Regions from separate parts of the Homo sapiens genome. Here region 1 is linked to region 2. The links are contacts of gene promoters, found by promoter capture Hi-C in blood cells and fetal thymus (Javierre and others, 2016). All regions are on one chromosome and are shown on one strand. The core of a region is centred on a gene start or on the middle of the fragment in contact, and the rest is flanking DNA. Distances in the headings are between cores, read along the strand shown. Region 1 overlaps NSMCE2 (NSE2 SUMO ligase component of SMC5/6 complex). Region 2 holds the start of TMEM71 (transmembrane protein 71).

Evidence for each region. Contacts are between HindIII fragments. The CHiCAGO score rates a contact against its expected background, and 5 or more counts as called.
Region 1: a fragment that was not itself captured here is called in contact with the fragment with the promoter of TMEM71 in region 2 in 1 of 17 cell types (neutrophils); the score reaches 5.1 in neutrophils.

Annotation. Positions count from the first base shown.
Region 1 is chr8:125,103,912-125,110,297 of GRCh38, forward strand. All of the region lies in intron 3 of NSMCE2 (NSE2 SUMO ligase component of SMC5/6 complex), which reads left to right. Among named protein-coding and RNA genes, the nearest start is that of NSMCE2, 15 kb to the left of the region's middle. The HindIII fragment of the contact is 5,559 bases long and covers 468-6,026 here.
Region 2 is chr8:132,756,347-132,763,640 of GRCh38, forward strand. TMEM71 (transmembrane protein 71) reads right to left here and starts at 4,236. Exons shown (of 10, transcript NM_001382403.1): 1 at 4,130-4,236; 2 at 2,494-2,569; 3 at 888-948. The coding sequence starts at 2,533. The HindIII fragment of the contact is 4,740 bases long and covers 4,018-7,294 here.

The DNA.
Region 1 (6,386 bases), core at 1,997-4,496, 7.7 Mb before region 2:
ATAGCTATTTTAATATCCTTGTATGTTAATTCTGTCATCTCTATGTGTATTATGTTGTTGAGTGTTTGGATTTTGTTGTCTTTTTTTTTTTTTTTTCAGCCGGAATTTTGCTCTTGTTGCCCAGGCTGGAGTGCAATGGTGCGATCTCGGCTCACTGCAACCTCCGCCTCCCGGGTTCAAGCGATTCTCCTGCCTCAGCCTTCGGAGTAGCTGGGGTTACAGGCATGCGCCACCACGCCCAGCTAATTTTGTAATTTTAGTAGAGACGGAGTTTCTTCATGTTGGTCAGGCTGGTCTCAAACTCCCAACCTCAGGTAATCCGCCTGCCTTGGCCTTCCAAAATCTTGGAATTACAGGCATGAGCCTCCATGCCCAGCTTGTTGTCCTCTTTTAAATAGTGTTGGAGTTTGTTTGGTGTGCAGCTAAGTGATTGTGGATTAGGCTGATCCTTTCTAGGCTTATCGTTAAGCTTTGTTAGGTCAAGTCTAATATAGCCTTTATGTTAGGGCTAATTTAGCCTTGTTACAAAGCATGGCCCTTCTGGAGTCTCTCTTGATTGCCCCGAGGGTTCAGTGCGATAGCTCTACTCTGGCTGGATGGAATTTGAGTGTCTCCCGGTCCTAGGTCCTACGTGACTGAACCTGGGAGTTGTTCACTTTATAGCTGTCAGTATTTGTTGCTCAGCATCTTAGGACTCAGCATCAGACTCAAGGGGACCCCAGTGCAGATTCCTAGAGCTCTTTATCTGCATAGCTCCCTCACTCTCTTGCAAACCCTGCTGGCTGCCTCAGCCTCCCTGAACTGAAGTCTCTGTCTCCTCAATCCTTCAAGACTGCTGTGCTAGGCCGAGCATGGTGGCTCCTACCTGTAATCCCAACACTTTGGGAGGCCGAAGCAGGAGGATCTCCTGAGGTCAGGAGTTCCAGGCCAACCTGACGAAACCCTGTCTCTACTAAAAAACAAAAATTAGGCATGGTGGAGGATGCCAGTAGTCCCAGCTACTGGGGAGGCTGAGGCAGGAGAATTGCCTGAACATGGGAGAAGGGGGTTGCAGTGAGCCGAGATTGTGCCACTGTACTCCAGCCTGGGGAAGAGAGTGAGACTCTGTCTCAAAAACTCCCTTGGATTCCTCCTCCCTTGCGCAGGGAGGAGGCCATTGCAAGACTTTTCCCAGTTTTCCCTTATTGCAGTAATTACAGTCCTGTCCCGCCTTTGTCCTACTGTCCCACAGCTATTGTTTCATATATTTTGTTTAGTTTTTCAGTCATTCATGGCAGGTGGACCAGCTCCATACAGTTATTCATTTACGGCTAACAGCAGGTGTCACTCATAATCTTTTTAGTGGGTGGCCTCCAAATGTTTTAACCCTACCCAGTCTGTTTTTGATTATGTTTTTGGTGATCATAATTTAGCTTTGATAGATAGGCCTGGATAAAAGTCATAATAAAATCTTAAACCATAAGAGAGAAGACTGGAACATAACCCCTTGGGAGATTGTATCAGTTTTTTTCAGGATTCTTTTTGAAGATTCCTGGGAGTTTTAGCTACAGAGTTTTTTTTTTCTCTTGGTTTTGTTTTGTTTTAAATAAGAGGTATATTTTGTTGTAAAATACAACATGTGCAATTTAAGAAGAATTATAAACATCATTTTTTGAAAGGTTCATGCTCTAAAGCCAAAGTTGGCAAAGTTTTTCTATAAAGGGCCAGATAACAAATATTTTCAACTCTGTAGGCCATGTGGTTTCTGTCACAACCCGCTGTTGTAGTGCAAAACCCACCATAGATGGTACGTAAATGAATGGGCATGGCTGTGGTCTTATAAAACTTTATTTACAAAAATGGGCAGTGGGCCGGATTTGGCTCACAGGTCTTAGTTTGTCAACCCCTGCTTTAGTGCCGCAGATTGTCATTAAGTAATTTTTAAAAGAAAGATGTATTTATTTTTTAATATTTGGATTAATTTTACAGCAAATACTTGATTTTGCATTTACCAAAAAAGTTAATTTAAGAAAAATTTTGAGCAAGTTATATGGGAAAAAAAGTGAACTAAACAACTTAGACAGACACAGAGTCACCAGGAGCCTGGACTTCTTATGAACTCAATATGTATATGAATACATGCGTGTGTGTGTGCATACACACACACACACACACACACACATTTTAACTAATACCAGGAGTCAAAATAACAAAGTAGTCAACATAAACTAACCAAGTGACTATTCTGCATATAATTCAGCTCTAGGTTTTAAAGAGGACATAAACAAGTATTAAGTAGTTCTTCCCTTCATAGAGTTTACCATCTTAGTGGGAAGACAAACACATATTAAAATACTAAAACAATGAGAAAACAGAAAAGATGTTATAAAGCTGCAAATAACTAATATCACCACTGATCTTATCAGAAAAGTCATACGCTCTCAAATTTATAATGGTGAACACAAATTTTTCAAAGTTCTAATTTTTTCTTTAAAACTTTCACTTTGGGCTGAGTGTGGTGGCTCATGTCTGTAATCCCAGCACTTTGGGAGGCTGAGGCAGGTGGATCACGAGGTCAGGAGTTTGAGACCAGCCTGACCAACTTGGTGAAACCCCATCTCTACTAAAAATACAAAAATTAGCCGGGCGTGGTGGTGCGCACCTGTAATCCGAGCTACTCAGGACTCAGGAGGCTGAGGCAGGAGAATAGCTTGAACCTGGGAGGCGGAGGTTGCAGTGAGCAGAGATCAGGCCACTGCACTCCAGCCTGGGCGACAGAGCAAGACTCCATCTCAAAAAAAAAAAACAAACAACTTTCATTTTGGCCGGGTGCTGTGGCTCACACTTGTAATCCTAGCACTTTAGGAAGCCGAGGCTGGAGGATCACCTGAGTTCAGGAGTTGGAGACCAGCCTGGCTAACATGACGAAAACCTGTCTCTACTAAAAATACAAAAATTACCTGAGCGTGGTGGTGGGCGCCTATAATCCCGGCTACTCGGGAGGCTGAGGCAGGAGAATCGCTTGAACCCTGGGGGCGGAGGTTGCAGTGAGCCGAGATCACGCCACTGCACTCCAGCCTAAGTGAAAGGGCAAAATTCTGTCTCAAAAAAAAAACAACAAAAAAAAACTTTCATTTTACCATTAGCAACAAATGCTGTTAGTTGTTGTCTTTGAAATTACAGTTGCACAGGCTCACTTTCTTCATTTTTGAGAAAATGTCTTTCAGATACCCAAACCTGAATAACCATAGTTTGTCTGTGAATTGTTCTATATTGTACTGTTTTATCAAGGACATTCTTTTTTTTTTTTTTTTTTGAGATGGAGTCTTGCTCTGTCCCAGGCTATAGTGCAGTGGCACGATCTTGGCTCACTGCAACCTCCGCCTCTTGGGTTCAAGCTATTCTCCTGCCTCAGCCTCCTGAGTCCTGAGTAGCTCGGATTACAGGTGCACACCACCATGCCCGGCTAATTTTTGTATCTTTAGTGGAGACGGGGTTTCACCATGTTGTCCAGGGTGGTCTTGAACTCCTGACCTCGTGATCCACCCTCCTCGACCTCCCAAAGTGCTGGGATTACAGGCATGAGCCACCAGGCCTGGCCTATCAAGGACATTCTTAAATGAAACTAGCATTTGTTTTACTATGAGTGCTTGGTAGAGAGGAATACAATGATCTATTAGAGTGCAACAGTTTGGTGCCACTGCTCTGATTTTTGCTAAGGCACCAGCAGTTTTTTCCACAATTGCTTTTGCACCATTAGTACAAACATTCAACATTTGTACTAATGGTGCAAATGTTAAAAAAGAAAAAGAAAAACAAACAAACCCAGACAAATAGCATCTTAAAATTATGATGTAAATAAGCTAGGCCTGGTGGCTGACACCCATAATCCCAGCACTTTGGGAGGCCAACCTGGGCAGATTGCTTGAGCTCAGGAGTTTGATACTAGCCTGCAGCAACATGGCAAACCCTGTCTCTACAAAACATACAAAAATTAGCCAGGCATGGTGGTGCACACCTGTAGTCCCAGCTACTCAGAAGGCTGAGATGGGAGGACAGCTTAAGCTCAGGTGGCAGAGGTTGCAATGAGCTGAGATCACACGACTGTACTCCAGCCTGGGCAACAGGGCCAGAGCCTGTCTCAAAAAAAAAATAAAAAAAATTATGATGAAAATAGTTTCGACCCATGGATCCCCTGAAAGGGCCCAGAAGAAATTACGATGAAAATAGTTTTGACCCACGGACCCCCTGAAATGGCTCAGAAGACCACACTGAGAACAAACTGAGTTTGATTGCTTATGAATAGGAGGTAGATGACATGAGAAGTCCTCTGCAGAGAGAAAGCCAAGGGCAATCACTCCCACTGGGGTAATTCAGCAAGAACTTGTTAGGGGAGCAGTGTTAATGTGATACCAGACTGAGGTGCTGTCCAAGGACCCAGAGAGTAGGAAAACACCGGTTGTTTAAGGAAATTGGAGGGTAGATCAGCCTGTAACAGTAGATGAAAGACTTGTAGAAGGCTGATACTAAGGCAGCCAGTATCAGCACTTAAGTGCACGCTTGCTATTGGGTCCAGTCCTAACTCTGTCATAAGTTCTGTAACTTTGAGTAAGGTACCTAACTTCTTTCAGCTTCTAATTTCTTATCTGTGAAATAGGATTAAAATGCCTGCTTCATAAGATTGTTGGGACTAATGAGATAATATATGCTAAGTGCTCTCAGCCACAATGTTAATTCAATAGCTATCATATATGACAACCAGCAATTAGTAAAATTTGAGGGTCAGAACTTAGAAGAAGGGCCTGTGATGTGAAGAGGGTAAGAAAGATGGATGAGTTTGGAAGTCTGTGTAAGACTGAGTCCAGCTAAGTCACTAATTCATCAGATATGTTGCCAAAACTACAAAGATAAATAAAGGTTTCTTCCTTTGAGTTGTTTACAGTCTAGGTAGGAAATAAGACATATACTTGTTATTCAATCATTAAGTGAACATTGATGGCCTATAATGTGATGCTTTGCCAAGGAGTTTGAACCTTATCATTGGAAGGTTTAAAGTAGAGGAAAAAATATGGTAAGATCCAGTTTTAGAAAGATAACTGTCCACAGCAGTACTGAGGAAGGAAAGACTTCAGGTGGCCAAAGAGGAGATTATGTCAGTAGCTCAAGTGAAAAAGAAAATAACTTTGACTAAGGTATTGTAACTAAGGTAAAAAGGATTTGATTTGTGTGCTATGTATCTTATACCCTCATTGTAATACAGGCATAATAGTGTAATAGATGATTGCTTGGGTTCTTATCCCAGTGCCCTCTCTTATCTTTGTGACCTTGGGCAAATTCTCTACCCTCCAATTTGCCTCAGGTTTCCTATTTATAAAAGGCATTATTGTGGGGATTAGCGAGATAATATTTTACAAATTACTTAGAATAGTAGTAAGTGCTCAGTAATTGTTAGCTGTTACTAGTAATTTGGTGTGCATTTGAGTTTGAGTTGACCGGTGGGTGTGTTGGACAACAGAGAATGGATTGGGAGAGATTAAAGTGCAGAAGAGCAAGTGGGGAATTTCATGGATTATCCCAGAACAGAAATACTGTTTTCCTTAGTTTTATGAGATTGTTGACTTTTTGGGTTGCCTGATTTCATCTCAAATCAGAGTGAACTTTGATAAACCAAATGATAATGATCACATAGGTATCATTTTATCACTTTGCCCTGACATTTTCCTGTTGTTGTATTATTAAGTTATTGGTAAAGGAGATTCTTGCTCCCAAGAACTAGGGTGGTGATGTGTTTTATTTTGTTTCTTATTGGTTGCAGATTCCTAATTCCTATACCAGGTGTTTGTCCCTGTTCAACTTTCTAGCTTATTTGAAATGATCACCTTTGCCTGTGTTACGTTAGAATATATGGTGTCTAGGCAATTAGACTCACCACTACCATGTTTATTCATTTTTCTCTAAATTTGTCGATATTCTAGTATTACCTTCTTCTTTGACCTAACTGGGAAATGAAATTTGTTACATTAGGAGATTTTTTTTGAGATTACCGAAGCTTATTTTTTTCAGGTTTTTGAGTTTATTATGTACTTTTCTGCCATCTTACACAGAATATACTGACCTAATTAACTGGAATTATTTTTAAATCATCTTTAAGTAGTTTTAGTAAGCGCTTTAGGTTTAGTTAAGTAAATTTGAGGAATCTCCCTTCTCTAAAATGTTAATGTACCTCAAAGATGTAAACTACATCTTTGTAGTTTTCAAAGATGTGTCATCTCTTCTCATGCCTCTCTGCCAGGGCAAGTCTGTGAATGGGCTTCAGAGGTTTGGTTAATGCTCTGCAATTCTACAAAAATGTATGTGCATGAGGATTAAAAGTTTTACCAGATTCTTGCTAAATATTTGATAGCAAC
Region 2 (7,294 bases), core at 2,986-5,485:
ATAGTTTCACCACTCACCAGAGAAACAATTCACAACTGCCCATATATTGACACTAACATATATATTATATATATATATATATATATATATATATATTCATTATTCTATTAGGCAAGTTTTTATTTAGTATGTACATGGCACCAAAAAGAAATAACCTTTCAAAACTAGATGATAGCTAAAATAATAATTTCAAACCAATAATACAACAAAGCAAGACATACAGGAAAATAATAATAATAATATAATAATAATTATTATTATTTTGAGACTCGCTCTGTTGCCCAAGCTGGAGTGCAGTGGTGTAGTCTTGGCTCACTGCAACCTCTGCCTCCCAGGTTCAAGTGATTCTCCCACCTCAGCCTCCCGAGTAGCTGAGATTACAGGCACATACCATCATGCCCGGCTAATTTTTGTATTTTTAGTAGAGACAAGGTTTCACCATGTTTTACCCAGGCTGGACTCAAACTCCTGACCTCAGGTGATCCACCCACTTCGGCCTCCGAAAGTACTGGGGTTACAGGGGTGAGCCACCATGCCCAGCGAAGAATGATTTTTTTTTTAGACAAGTCTCTCTCTGTCGCCCAGGTTGGAGGGCAGTGGTGGGATCTCGGCTCACCGCAAGCTCCGCCTCCTGGATTCACGTCATTCTCCCGCCTCAGGCTCTCAAGTAGCTGGGACTGCAGGGGCCCGCCACCACGCAGCGCTGATTTTTTTTTTTTTTTTGTATTTTTAGTGGAGACGGGGTTTCACCGTGTTAGCCAGGATGGTCTCCATCTCCTGACCTCGTGATCCGCCTGCCTCGGCCTCCCAAAGTGCTGGGATTACAGGCATGAGCCACCACGCCCGGCCAGAATGATTATTTTTTTAAAAGAAGCCCCATAGTATACCTTGGGAAAATGCACGTGGGAGACAGCTCTCCAGCATATTCTCTTTCCAACCTGGAAGAACCTGCATAAACAAATGAGAGAGAAGTAGAATGTATCATACCTGATCAACAGTTACATATGTTGATACATGTATCAATATGTATAATTGCAAACAGTGGAGGCATGTAAGAAGATGGGAATAGCTGATGTTCCAGCTTCAGCAGGAAGACTCCAGTAGTGCAGGTACCCTTATCACCAGGGATCTACCGGAAGCAAGACATAAACTAGAGGCTTCTATCTTCTGTTCCTTCATCCACATAACACTCTAGAAGTTCCGGGCGCAGTGTCTCACTCCTGTAATCTCAGAATTTGGGAGACCGAGGCGGGCGGATCACAAGGTCAGGAGATCTAAACCATCCTGGCTAACACGGTGACACCCCGTCTTTACTAAAATATACAAAAAATTAGCAGGGCGTGGTGGTGGGCGCCTGCAGTCCCAGCTACTGGGGAGGCTGAGGCAGGAGAATGGCGTGAACCTGGGAGGCAGAGCTTGCAGTGAGCTGAGATCGCTCCACTGCACTCCAGCCTGGGCGACAGAGCAAGATTCTGTCTCAAAAAAAAAAAAAAAAAAAAAATTTCTTAGTGCAGAATGAGGCAATAATAAATCATTAGCATCAAACTGAGCTCATGTAAGGATGGGAAAAAACGTCTTGTGTGAAGCAGGAGAAAACCCAAATCAATTACCCAATGTGTTGGTTATTGCAGCTTACTCAGTAATCTGAGGAATTCAATCATTGTTCTAGACTCTCCCTCATTAGTGCATATTAAGACACTTCTACTGTAAAATAATGAGCAAAAGACATTAGTGGGGAAGAAATAAAGTTTTGTTTTGTTTTATATAACATTTTTCCAAAGTATAAAGACTGTGAGTATTCTTAATTATAGAAACATCATCCATTCATTCGTTCCATTTTAACCAAAGGCGTGGCAACAGACTTTACTTGGAGAAAGTTGGAGTTGATTAATATTCTAAACTCTAAAGCAGAATTTTATCGTGTGCAGAGATGGTGTCAATAGTCCTAACAGACAAGCTAGTGAAATTTGATTCCATTATGGACAATTAGTATCTAGGACAAAGAAAGGAATTTAGACTTTCAGATTGGGCTGGTTGATTTGTAGGGAGAAAACTGTGGGTGTGTGAGGGAGAGTTAGAAGTGGGGTTTTGGGAGAAAATAACAAGAGGAAGGAAGAAACTTGAAACCACTACCGTTTTAACAGCGCTCTTATTTTCTGCAAGTAGCTATCAAAATCATTCAGCATTTTTTATATACAAACAGTTTTGCATCTTAATAGTAGCTGATAAACAATCTCCTTTCACATTTATGCACAGGCATCTAAAAAAAAACGGTGATTTTTTTTTTTCTACTAGAAGGAAAAATACCACATTTCTTTCAAGGAAAAAAATGAAGTTAAAATCATTGCCAAAGTGAACACTGGCATTTAAGAAGCACAAGCTACTGACAGATGGTTAATGGTCTGAGTATCAGCAAAATCAAAGCAAGGAAATTGCTAAAAGGAGTCTAATCGTTCAAAAGATAATTGCGTATCACAGTTCTTCTACATTTACTTGCTACTGGTGTTGACATCAGTTGAGATATTCGGTACATCTTGGGAAGGCCGCTTGCTCAAACTTCACAGATTCTCTGCAAAAGATGTTAAAAAAAAGGTGGACTATATATTAAAAATAGAAAAATTATGCCAAAACAGATGGCATCTACTAATTGCACTAGTCAGATTTGTTTACTGAAATAATACAGAGATACAGAATTGAAGGTAGGAGACCAGACTGAAGACACAACCCCTCTAAAGTTGTGTCTGCCTCTATGACTGAACATTTTCCATTGCCTCACTCAGTGCATCTCAATAACATTTTTCTGTAAATAAGAACCACACTTTATTTGGAAAATCTAGACTTAAAAAGGTTGATTTGTAATCCAAAGAAAATAATGAAAGTGAGGTATTTGATTAAGAAATCTTAATAAAATGACTGGTTCTAACAGTCATTTAGCCCCAAAACAAACTTACGTGTATTTTAATCATCTGACACAAGTCAACTTCATTATCAAGTTTCAAACAGTGCTTGGAGATTGGTGTCTGTCTTTTTCCCAACAACTTGAACCATTGACAGGTAGTCACAGAGAGTGATTTTAATAGTTTTTATCAGCCTGGACATTCCTAAACAGCATAAGTAATGTTGCACTAAAGATAGCATACCATTGGGAAGATTTTAGAACTTAGTTCCCATGAAGACATGATTTAATTTCTCAATTACTAATTAAAAACATATCAAAGTATGTAAATTATGCAAACTTTGATCATTTACTGTTCATCAAATAGAACCAACTTCTGTTGACTATGAAACTTTGTATATAGTATCACTATCCTAATCGCTTTATAAGGTAGGAGTAAATTATTTTCTGATTCACCACTTATGGCCACATTTTGTAACATGAGAACTAGTAATGGATTGTTTTTGTAGCTGTAATTCAATCAATCAAACCAGGCTAATTCTACAGCTTCAAGTTGAATATTTCAATAAATTATATATAAACCCTATTAGGAAAATATAAACCTGGTTTATAGAGACCTGTAAAGATGTCAGGAGAACTTTCTGGCCTTCCTTGGAAGATTTCTAAATCAAAGCACACATTTACAAATTTCATTTGTTTGGGATATAAAATAATCCCAGTGTAATGTAATATATTAGTATGTTACTTGTTCTTTTCATTTTTGATCAATATTGTACGGGTATGCCCAGCCCAAATTACCTTATTTTAGTGTTCCCCAAGTATTAAGCTTAATTTTAAGCCTATAAATCCTGCAGCAAAAGAAGGTCTTATTGCTCTATCTCACAAGTGCTTAGAAGAATCTACAGGCAGTACACTGACATTCAATAGAAAATTAGTAACAGTAGGAAAAAAAAAAGCCCTTCAGTTACAGATCTAAAACTTTTCAAGAAACAGAATCTGCCAGTTCCATCAAAGCGACACATCTATTCTGAAAAATAATGTGTGCATACGTGTTCCTTCCAAAGGGAGTTCCCAGCCTCTTCTTCCAATTGACAAAGGACAAAATTATTACTGAAATACGAAGCTTCCTGTGGTTGACAGTGGAAAAATTGAGGACTGAGCAGTTCCTCGGCTGAAAAATGTCTGAATGTCAACAGGTGCAGAAGTCTCTTAATAAAGGGAATCCCACCCTACCTTCTTCTCACAGATGCCCACGCACATTGCTGTGCACAGGTGCTTGCAGAGAAGTTTTGTCTTCGGCAGCCTCTTGTTCTCTTGTCTGTTTCCTGGTATAAATGAGTGTATAGTTCTTGGGAAAGTCAGTCTTACAACTTCTCTTGTTTTCTTTTGAAAACAGCCTGCGTAACCAGAGGCAAAGAAGCAGAATGAGGTCACACTTCCTGTTGGGCTCACATCAGTGGCATTCACACTGAGGAGTGTGCTGAAGATTTCAGAGAGTTTCCTGGGCCAGCAGCAGGGAATGTGCAGCCCATGTGTCAGGCCAGCTGGTTACACCCTGGTCACTGGAGGGGTGGTTTTCTGAGCTAACTTGTCACCTTTGGCTGCGAGAACGTGAGAAAGACTCAGCGAACTGACATTTCTTGCTCATCATATGGCCACATTCAGTTATAAGTAGTGCAGAGTAGTGATCTTTGTCCAAATCACTTAAATTTATTGAGGATAATGCACTGATGCTATTAAATTCAGAATACTATTAAATAGCAAGAGCTTGATCTTATGAAAATTTCTATAGAGGCAATAGGTTTATCTAATGAAGGTTGGACTTCACAAAAAACTCTATAGATGGCATTTTACATTTACATTATAGTAGAGCTCAAAGACTTGATGGTGTTTATGGGTTCATACACATCTGTACTACTGTAAGTGATAAAAGAAATGTACATTCAAATATATATTCCAGCAACATTGAGGTACCACTGCATAGTGGAAAGAGTGCGGATTCTGGGGTCACAAGACAGAAATTCAACCTGTCTACCATCCTAGCTGTGTGACCTCAGATTTGTGACTTACCCCTCTGAGTTGCAGTTTTCTCAATTATAAACATAAAAATATATATGTCATATGATGGCTTGAAGAATTAAATGAAATAAAAGAAATGAGAAATAATCGAGTCCTCAGCACAGATGTGCAAGGTGTATTCTTTATTTGTTTTCTTAAATCAAGTTCTCTTCTGAGGCACCAGTTGGTCCGGCTGGCGGAAAAGTTAATCTCATCCTTTCCTGGGGTTCCCTTTCCCCCTGAGGTTCTGCCACATGGCAGGATCTTCTGTAGAACATGTTCTAGGCAGCAGGAACTGTCAGGAGGAGGGCCCATCTAATTTCAAAGTTCTCTGTCTCTGGAACTTCATGTCTATTCTCCATCCCTTGAGTGTAGACTGAGGCTGCTGACATGCTCCTTGTAAATAAAGTAAGGCAAAGGTGCTGAGTTTCCACTACCATGATGAGGCTTCCATCTTGTTGGACTCTATTACTTTCTTGCTTGCCTGCTTTGATGAAGCAAGCTGCCATGGTGGAGAAGCCCATGTGTCAAGGAATCAAGAGTGGTCTCAAAAGCCAGTAAGGGTCTGATGCTCCATCCAACAGCCAGGAATCCAGCCAAAAACCAAGTGTGTGAGCTTGGAAGTGGATCCTTCTCCAGTTGAGCCTTGAGCTGACTGCAGCCCCATCTAATGCTCGATTGGAACTGGGAAAGACCCAGAAGCAGACAACCCAGGCTAGCCCTGCCCAGCTCCCTGGCCCACGCAAACTGGGAAGTGACAAATGGTATTTCAAGCCACCACGTTTTGAGGTAATTTGTTACACAGCAACACATAGCAGATGCATAGTCCTAACACAGGTCACTTCCTGAGCCATCTGTCATTGCTGACTCTCTGCTGCTTTAGTGACTCCTGTAGAATATAGTCACATTTACTCAAGGCTACTCCTGGTCACATCTGCCTAAATTTAACAGACAGCTATTCTGCTTCACAGCTGTCTGGTATTCTCTTTACTGGAATTCACAGTTCTCTTCTTCTCCTTTTCCTGTTTTTCTTATCCCTCATCCTCCCTCTTCCAGCCTTGGCTTATCTCTTCTAGATGAGGGAGGAAAATCTTTCTGACTTATTCGAGACCCTCTGCTCTTCCTGTGCCCACAAATCCACTTTTCCGAAGAGCTCACATCAGAAAGACTTTGGTCTACTTTTTTTTTTTTTAAAGATCTGGCACATATTAGAACCTTATTATTAATGATCATAATAATTGCTAACTTTAAGGAGTGCTTACTATGTACCAGGCACTGTTCTAAGGTCTTTCCACATATCAACACATTAATTGTTACATCAATTCCATGGGAGATGCTGTATTATTATTCTCATTTTACAGAAGAGCAAACTGAGTTTAGAGAGTTGCCCAAATTCACATAGCCAGTACGTGATGAGTAAGTAGAGCTAGGATTCAAACCCTGATGAGATGGCTCTCGAGTTTGCTTTCTTAACCTATAAGTGTAATGATCATATCCAACGTGTGTCAGCATTTTCTACAAACCAGGCACTGCACTAAACACTGTACATATGTAATCTTGTTTCAACCTCACGTAGCCCTAGAAAATAAGTGCAATTGTTATCCACATGCAGGACAGAGGTTTATAGAGTTTGCATAAATCTTTCAAAATTGCCAATGGCCAGAACTAAATTCCAAACCTATGGTTCCCCTCTCAATCTTCTCTCTTGAGACCCACTCATCTTCTTCTTGTTTCTCATACACTAGACACGGGTCTACTTCAAGATCTTTGAGGTTAGTGTTCCCTCACCCTAAGGGTCACAGGGCTTTCTTCCTCCCCTCCCTCAGCTCTTTTCTCCACTGCCTTGCTACTAATTAATTGCCCTCCACACCACTCCCTAGTCTCTTCCTGCTTTATTCTTCTCCTTAGCACTTTTTACCAAGGAATATGTCACACAATTCATTCCTTGTAATAAGAAACGTACTCCTCAGCCAGAACATGAGCATTAAAAGAGCAGAGAATATTGTCATTTTGCTTCATTTTAATAGCCCAAGTATCAAGAGTAGTGCTTCCCATATAGTAGGTTATCAATTAATGTTTGTGGAATTAACAAATAAATTAATTACATCCAGGTAGACTTGCCTTCAGAACCTTTATTCTGCATGTTATAAATCAATGTTTCTAAAAGCATGTTCCACAGAATATTCAGTCCTCCACTGTTAATGGAGGTGATGCGTGTGGATGGGGAAAAGACGAGTGGCAAATTTCAGTACAAAAAGTTCTAGAAAGCATAGGTCTCTAATAGAGGTCACTATAGAATCTTTTAAATGATACTCGGACTTGCTACTATACACAGGAAAC